3 separate regions of the Homo sapiens genome follow, and all the other regions are linked to region 1. Evidence: promoter capture Hi-C in human tissues and cell types (Jung and others, 2019). All regions are on one chromosome and are shown on one strand. The core of a region is centred on a gene start or on the middle of the fragment in contact, and the rest is flanking DNA. Distances in the headings are between cores, read along the strand shown.

Region 1 (2,700 bases), core at 188-2,687:
TTCTAGTGATCTCCCTAGAAGTCAGCCTTTTATTATGTTTATTGTAAGGTTGTGTGTCTTTCTAATTACGTGGCCCATCCTAGAAAACTTGCTACCTTGAGATTACCTTTCTATTTCTCCTTGCATTCCTGCAAACACCTAAACCTCTGTAGACAAGAGGTTCATCTCAGAGTCTGAACTGGCTGAGGATCATAAAATTCTGTCAAATACCTGGTCAATTAAGTTCTGGCTGGAAGAGGGGGTCAAATTAGATGACTGACATGTGCGGATAAGGGCACTGGTTTATTTCACATTTTAGCCTTTAATGTGGGTGGGTACACAAAGCCACAGAGTTTGTTGCCATACCCCAACATAAAAGCCTCTGGGACAAGGTTGAAAGGGTAGCGGGGAGAGGGCCTTGGATAGCGGATGGGGTGGTTAACCCGCGACTCTGGTGACATTTTGCCATCAGCCGCTGGTGACATCTTGCCATCAGCTGCAGCTACAGAATGTTGCTCGCAGGAGGAATTTGGCCTGCCGTTGAAGATGTGTTTCTCAGATGAGACTGTAAGGGGCCGGAGCTTGGGATTTTAGGAGTGCAGGGCCCACCTCTTCCTTGGTATCAAGCCACTTAACTAAACTCTTGCGGTGTCTTATGACCAGGGACGAAGTGCGGGGCCCCTTCAGACGTCGCAGCTGGAGTAACTGTTTTCTTTCCATTTCACAGCTCTTGAAGGAGGTGTGACTGAGTGAGGCGCTGGAAAGCTTGTTCTATAATTACTTCTTGATCCGCTTCTAGGCGTGCTGTGCATGCGTCCGACCATGTGTGTTTGCGTTAGCTTGCGCCGTCGACAAGAGCCAGAGAACGTGGGTCTAGGATAAAACGTGGATGATATTTTTGCTTCAAATGTCACATTTTACGGGGGTCTAAAGGTCTTAGGCTGGAGTCTTTGCGGATGATTGCCAACTGTAGCTGAATCTATGAGCTGGGATGTACCCAAGCCAGTGCAATCGCTCCAAATCAGGGCGGGCGGCACTAAGCCGGGGAGCAAACACCGCTCCCGGCCCGCCCAGAGCAGACGCCCTAGGTTGGGGCTGCAGCGAGTGCGCGCGTGGGCTGTGGAGCCGGCGGAGGCAGCGGTCCGGAATGGCTCTGTGGAGGCTGCGCTCTCTTCCTGGCCCCGCAGCCACAGCAGCTGCCCCATGCTCGCGCGGCAGGACCTACCAGGCGCCCACCCTGGGCTGCGCCGCCTCGGACCACCCGCTGCTCCCCTCCGCCCGCTGCCTCTTCTCCCCGCGCCTCACGGGGCTCCGCACTGACTCCAGGCGCCTCCGGGGGCGTCGCGCGCGCGGAGCGGCGCCGGGGGCGGGGCCTCGTGTAGGGCGCCCCGGGATTGGCTGTGGGGAGAGGGGGCGGGGCCGGCCGCGGAGAAAACAGCCGGCGCGCCGCGCGAGTGCAGTCTGGGTCTGGAGCCTGAGCCCTGCGGAACCTCGGCGCTCGGCCCCACCCCGCCCGTACCTGCACTTATTTATTGTTGTTATTTCTTACCGCGGAGCCCCGCAGTCGGGTCCTCCCGCCCGCTCCCGCGCAGCGCTAGCATTCTCCAGTCCCTCAGTCCCTTCCCGCGCGGTGCGCCGCAGCCGAGGCGATGCGCCTCATTCAGAACATGTGCACCATCGCCGAGTACCCCGCGCCGGGCAACGCCGCGGCCTCCGACTGCTGTGTGGGCGCCGCCGGCCGCCGCCTGGTCAAGATCGCCGTGGTGGGCGCCAGCGGCGTGGGCAAGACCGGTGAGTCGTCGCGCTTAGCCCTGGGTCTGGTCTTGGACGACCCCTGACGGGAGTTGAGGCTGAACAAGGCGTGGGGAGCGGTGGGAGCTGCAGCCCGACCGCTCTCCGTCCCCGCGCAGGGAGCCGCTGCCCCTTGGGAGTGGGCTTAGCCGTTGTCTACGCCACCCGCCTGCTTCCACAGACGGGGGAAACAAGGATCAAGAATGGCCAGGCAGCTTTCTGGGGACCACCGGCACCGCCGCCATCAGAACTTTGGGGTGTTTGAGCCTCTGGCAATGCCTGGCACAGAAAGGGGAGTTAGTGAAGCTAGCCCCCCTGGGAGGTCTTGAAGGTTAGGAAGACATGGGTCTACTGGAAGGCTTAGGTGTGGCTCAGCCGGGCTCAGAGGAGGGGGTGGGCCCAGTGAGCCTTCCAGCTGCACAGAGCCATAATTCACGATGCCTTCTAGCCCCCTCCTTTTTGTCTGGAAAGAAGGGTCAAGGAGCTACAGGGTAGGAATTTCACTTGGTGGCCATCTATGGCTTTCTTTGGGAGAACTGTTTTCCAGGCAGGGGGTGGGGTGGAGAACAATCTAACTTCCAAGGTTAACACTTTGACGTTCTTTTTTCTGACGTGCAGCACTGGTGGTCCGGTTCCTCACCAAACGATTCATCGGTGACTATGAAAGAAATGCAGGTGAGACAATGCATTTGAGAAAAATTCTGTCCCATTGCAGGAGGACTGCGGTTCCCATTTTCCAGCGCTTCCCAGGGAGGTTCTTTCAGTGACAGTCCGAGCCTGAGGATCCCGCCACTTAAAACTTTCCCCAGTCCCCAGCCCTCCATGGCGCCCCCCTCCCATAACTACCATCTGGCCTCATTCCATTCCAAGCCCATTCATCATTTTATCAAGTGCCTGAAAGTATTCCCCTTGGTATGTTTTAACTATAGT
Region 2 (2,700 bases), core at 84-2,583, 520 kb before region 1:
TCCAAATGGGAGAAATTAGCCAAAACAAAGGGGCTACAGGCCCCATGCAGGTGTGAAAGCCAGCAGGGCAGTCATTAAATCTTAAAGCTCTGAAATAATCTCCTTTGACTCCATGTTTCACATCCAGGCTCCACTCATGTAAGGGGTGGGCTCCAAGGCCTTAGGCTGCTCTGCCCCTATGGCTCTTCAGGGTACAGTCCCTGCAGCTGTTTGTATGGGCTGACATTGATTGCCTGCAGGCACATGGTGCAAGCTGTCAGTTGATCTACCATTCTGGGACCTGGAGGGCAGTGGCCCTCTTCCCACAGCTCCACTAGGCAGTGCTCCAGTGGGGACTCTGTTTGAGGGATCCAACCCCACATTTCCCCTCCACACTGCCCTACTGGAGGTTTTTCATGAGGGCTCTGCCCCTGCAACAGACTTCTGCATGGACATCCAGGTATTTCCATACATCCTGTGAAATCTAGGTGGAGATTCCCCAACCTCAACACTAGCTTTCTGCACACACACACATACACACACACAGAGAGAGAGAGAGAGAGAGAGACCCAACAGCACGTGGAAGCCACCAAGTCTTGGGGCTTGCATCCCCTGAATCAATGAACTAAGTTGTACCTTGGCCCCTTTTAGTCTACAGTGGGAGCTGGAGCAGCTGGGATACAGGGTATCATATCCTGAGGCTTCACAGAGCGACTGGGCTCTGGGACTGGACCATGAAGGTAATTTTTTCCCCAAGCCTCAGGGCTTGTGATGGGAGGAGCTCAGCAGAGATCTCTGAAATATCCTGGAGACATTTTCCCTATTGTCTTGGCTATTAACATTCAGCTTCTCTTTAGTTATGCAAATTTCTGCAGCCGTCAGGCTGCAAATTTTCCAAACTGTTATGCTCTGCTTTCCTTTTAAACATAAGTTCTAATTTCAGACCATCTCTTTGTAAATACGTATGACTATGTGAACCCTGAGTAACTGAGATAGGTCTCAGTTAATTTAGAAAGTTTATTTTGCCAAGATTGAGAACACTCACCCATGACACAGCCTCAGGAGGTCCTGATGACATGTGCCCAAGGTGGTCGGGACACAGCTTGGTTATATACATTTTATGGAGACATGAGACATCAATCAATATATGTAAAATGTACATTGGTTCAGTCCAGAAAGGCAGAACAACTCAAGTAGGGAGGGTGCTTCCAGGTCACAGGTAGATGAGAGACAAACCGTTGTATTTTTTTGTTTCTGATTAGCCTTTCCAAAGGTGGCAATCAGGTATGCATTTACCTCAGTGAGCAGAGAGATAACTTTAAATAGAATGGGAGTCAGGTTTGCCCTAAGTAGTTCCCAGCTTGACTTTTCACTTTTTAACTTAGTAATTTTGGGGCCCCAAGATTTACCTTCCTTTCACAACTTACACTGATAGGGGCAGTCAGGCCACATCTTCAATGCCTTGCTGCCTAGAAATTTCTCTTGCCAGATATCCTAAATCATCTCTCTCAAGTACAAAGTTCCACAGATCTCTAGGGTAGGGGCAAAATGCCACCAGTCTCTTTGCTAAAGCAAAGCAAGAGTGACCTTTACTACAGTTCTCAATAAGTTCCTTATCTCCATATGAGACCACTTCACCCTGGATTTCACTGTCCACATGAGTGTTATCATTTTGGTCACAACCATTCAGCAAGTCTCTAGAAAGTTCCAAACTTTCCCACATCTTCCGGCTTCTGAGTGCTCCAAACTGTTCCAACCTCTGCCCATTACCCAGTTCTAAAGCCGTTTCCTCATTTTCAGTTATCTTTATAACAATGTCCCACTTTCCTGGTACCCATTTTTTGTATTAGTCTATTTTCACACTGCTATAAAGAACTACATGAGACTGGATAATTTATGAAGAATAGAGGTTTAATTGACTCAAAATTCTGCAGGCTTAACAGGAAGCCTGTTAAGAGGCCTCGGGAAACTTATAATCATGGTGGAAGGAGAATTTTCTTTCCAGACTCACTTTTACTTCCGTGGTCAATTTTAAATTTTTGATTGGCACCAAGTAAACAGTTACCATTTCCCTGATTATTCCTGACTTCTGAGAGAGTTCACATTTTCAACATGGTAATCAAGAATTTGCCTAATAATCTTCGAGCAGACCAAGACTTCCTGCAGGGATCTGCATAGCTGAGGGCCCCCATCACCACTCCTTCTTGCTAATTGTGTTTGTTCATGTGTATGTGCTTAATTTGCATTATAATATCTCATTCATTCTGCTATTTAGTTGGATATCAGCAGTAAACTTCCACAATTGAGCCATTGGGCTTGCTCTCCCCTCATAGCCTCTTTCAAATAATGACCACTGAACTTACAATTTCATATTCATGGATTTACATCCAGATGTACATCTTATTGGCATGCAATGCTGACCTCTGTTCTCCTACTATACATATTTCTTTTGAAGAATACCCAGTCATTTTTCAAAATGGACAATGAAATGTCCTACCCATGGTAGGAAAATGAAATCCTAAGGCCCCCAACAAATTGAATGAACACCATGTTGGCCAAAGGGACCCCAGAGAAACCTTGAAAACTGAGTTCCCAGCCATGATGGGATGGGAGGTCAGACATACCTCATTATATTTTCTCCTTGGGTCTTCCCTAAGAGTTAAAATGAAAGAAACCAGCCCTTTGGAAAGACTTGCTGCATCTCTGATATCAACCAACTGT
Region 3 (2,700 bases), core at 186-2,685, 610 kb before region 1:
CTGCTCTGTGTAAAATTTGGCTCTCAAGCCAGAGATGAAGTCATGCTACTGGCTTTATAAGCTATTGCAGCTGCACAATGTCCCTAGAGACCCTCGTTCCCTTTCAGAGTGAGAACATGTGTCTGCGGAGCTGTGAGCTACACTAGTCAGTTCTTAAGGTGCTAGAGAATGGCCTTCTTTCCCAGTGGCAACCTTCATTCTTCACAAAGGTTGGTCTCCAGGCTTCCATGCCAGCAGGGTGCTCCAAAACCACCCCAGGGTTTTTCTTAAGGCCCCACTCTGTGTGGTTTTGGAGGCAAGGTTAGCACTTGTTCCATCTGTATCCTGTTAATTGCTCTAAAGCTGGAGCCTCATGGGGCTAGGTTCCCAATGAATGAGACATGCACATAAGTGCTCACATAGAAAATGAGTTTGGGATTCCTCCTGGTCCATTCTGTACCCTCAGTTGGAAGGCAAAATAAATCTATTTTTCTCCTGTCTTTGAAATTAGTCAATTAATTACTATAAAGCAGTGAACAAAGTGGTCCTCTGGAGGAATTCATGTAGCAAAAGAAGATGAAAGGACTGGGATGAGATAAGGACAATGGAAGAGGATGACAAGAGTCATCTTCATAATAGGACAAAATGTTATAAAGCTTTGACAGAGAGCTATTTCCTTAAGTAGCTATTAGTGTCACACAACTATTAATATGGAATTAAGAATATACAGCTGTAAACATGTGACATTATAATATACTAATGTAATTTAAATTAAAACAAAAATGGAATTTTAAATATATTAATAGAATATTGGTTTTAAACATGTCTACTTATACACTTGTTATATTGTTCTATATATTTTAAAAGACTGTACACTTAGAGGAATCCTTAGATGATTTTCAAGTCAGTGTGCTTCCTCTCTGCCACTTCTTTTTTTTTTTTTTTTTTCTGACACAGAGTCTCACTCTGTCGCCCAGGATAGCGTACAATAGTGTGATCTTGGCTCACTGCAACCTCTGCCTCCCGGGTTCAAGTGATTCTCCTGCCTCAGCCTCCCAAGTAGCTGGAATTACAGGTGCCCACCACCACATTTGGCTAACTTTTTGTATTTTTAGTAGAGATGGGGTTTTGCCATCTTGGTCAGGCTGGTCTCAAACTCCTGACCTCAGGTGATCCACCCACCTCGGCCTCCCAAAAAGCTGGTATTACAGGCGTGATCCATCGCGCTTGGCCTCTCCCACTTTCTTAGGGTCTAATTTTATGAGGTAAATCTCTTTCAGAGATAACCCTCCTAGGAAAATGAAAGAAGGAGGAAAGAGATCAAGAAGCAGTGGGTCTAAGAGGAACTGAAAAGTAAAGTTAACTCGCCATTGCCTTCCTCTTCTCTCAGGTATGGGGTACAGAGATCATGGAAGAAGGAGCCAAATGTGACTTATCTGAGAGCTTGTATGACTATTCCTTCTCACCCTTTAAATGATTAGTAGGCTATAAAGGAGTGTGCATTTTGGAGTAGGCTTTTTTTTTTTTTTTTTTTTTTCACTAAAAAAGAGCACAGAGAAGGAAGGATAAGGCTTAATGGGTGTGTTACCAAAACACCAGGAGTTTGGTCTAGGTCCTACTGCTGGCTTCACAGAAAGACAATCACTGAGGCAATGAGTATTGCAAAGGAAGAAATCTTTAATCAGGTCCTGTAGCCAAGGAGATGAAAGATCAGTCTCAAATCCATCTCCCTGCCTGACTAAAATTGCGGGTTTAAATAGCAGGGAAGAAATGTAACCATGTGTGGGAAGACAGGAATAAGGGCAGGGTAAGGAAGAGGAGTTGGTCAATAGGAAGCAGATGGTCAGTTAGGCAATCATGACGGGTGAGGGATCTGATGTCTCATTGTCCAAATGCAGTGATCTAATGAGTTTCAGCTCCTTGATACTATCTAGGAGTCCTGATGGTTGGTTTTCTGAGAAAGGAACTCAGATAAGAAAAATTAAGCTTTCTTAAGTTTTAAGACTGGGAGGATCAATTTCTATGTTTATTCAAAGGAATCATAACCATCAGTTCTATGGGACATGAGTTGGTTTCAGATTTATTATCAAAGAAAGGGCAGATAGGCAGGAAGGTGGTTTGGTTGGACACATTTGGGCTTTGGGTGGAACTGGTCTTAGGATGTTTCCAGAAGAGATTAGCATTTGAGTCAGTAGGTTTGAGTAAAGAAGATCTGCCCTCACCAAGGTAGGTGAGCATCAACCAATCTACTGAGGACCTGATAGAGCTAAAGGCAGAGGAAGGGCACATTCTCTCTGTCTCTCTCCCCTTGAGGGGGCCTCTTCCATCTTTTTCTGCCCTCAGACATCAGAACTCCAGGTCTTGGGCCTTTGGCACTGGGACTTACAGCAGCAGGCACCCCAGTTCGCAGACCTCCTTATACCATCAGGTCCCCTGGTTCTCAGGCCTCTGGTCTCAGACTTAATTGTACCTCTAGCTTCCCTGGTTTTCCAGCTTGCAGATTGTGGGACTTCTCAGCCTTTGTAGTTGCATGAGCCAATTTCCATAATAAATTTCCTCTTATATCTATAGTCAGCTGAAGAATGACAAGGTTCATAAATAAAAGGACAGCTTTATTTTTCACAAAGGATGGCAGCCTGCAGGGTGGTCGTTCTGACAGGCTGGGAAGTATATGCTCCAGCTAGGAGCCAAAAACAGGTACTCCGAGGTTGAGAATAAGAC

What was found. The method cuts DNA at HindIII sites, captures the fragments that hold promoters and counts their contacts. A contact is called where the count stands out against the background at its distance.
Region 2: a contact is called between a fragment that was not itself captured here and the fragment with the promoter of RASL11B in region 1, in 2 of the 25 tissues and cell types used here (H1 embryonic stem cells and mesendoderm cells).
Region 3: a fragment that was not itself captured here is called in contact with the fragment with the promoter of RASL11B in region 1 in 2 of the 25 tissues and cell types used here (mesendoderm cells and thymus).

Annotation. Positions count from the first base shown.
Region 1 is chr4:52,860,880-52,863,579 of GRCh38, forward strand. It overlaps RASL11B (RAS like family 11 member B), which reads left to right and starts at 1,438. Exons shown (of 4, transcript NM_023940.3): 1 at 1,438-1,770; 2 at 2,389-2,445. The coding sequence starts at 1,629. It overlaps LOC124900700 (a long non-coding RNA gene), which reads right to left and starts at 1,326. Exons shown (of 2, transcript XR_007058115.1): 1 at 1,205-1,326; 2 at 270-852. RefSeq lists silencers at 1,002-1,491, 1,463-1,757. The HindIII fragment of the contact is 6,378 bases long and covers 1-2,700 here.
Region 2 is chr4:52,341,585-52,344,284 of GRCh38, forward strand. All of the region lies in intron 1 of LOC107986279 (a long non-coding RNA gene), which reads left to right. Among named protein-coding and RNA genes, the nearest start is that of SPATA18, 290 kb to the left of the region's middle. The HindIII fragment of the contact is 5,584 bases long and covers 1-2,700 here.
Region 3 is chr4:52,250,246-52,252,945 of GRCh38, forward strand. No RefSeq gene overlaps it. Among named protein-coding and RNA genes, the nearest start is that of SPATA18, 200 kb to the left of the region's middle. The HindIII fragment of the contact is 4,064 bases long and covers 1-2,700 here.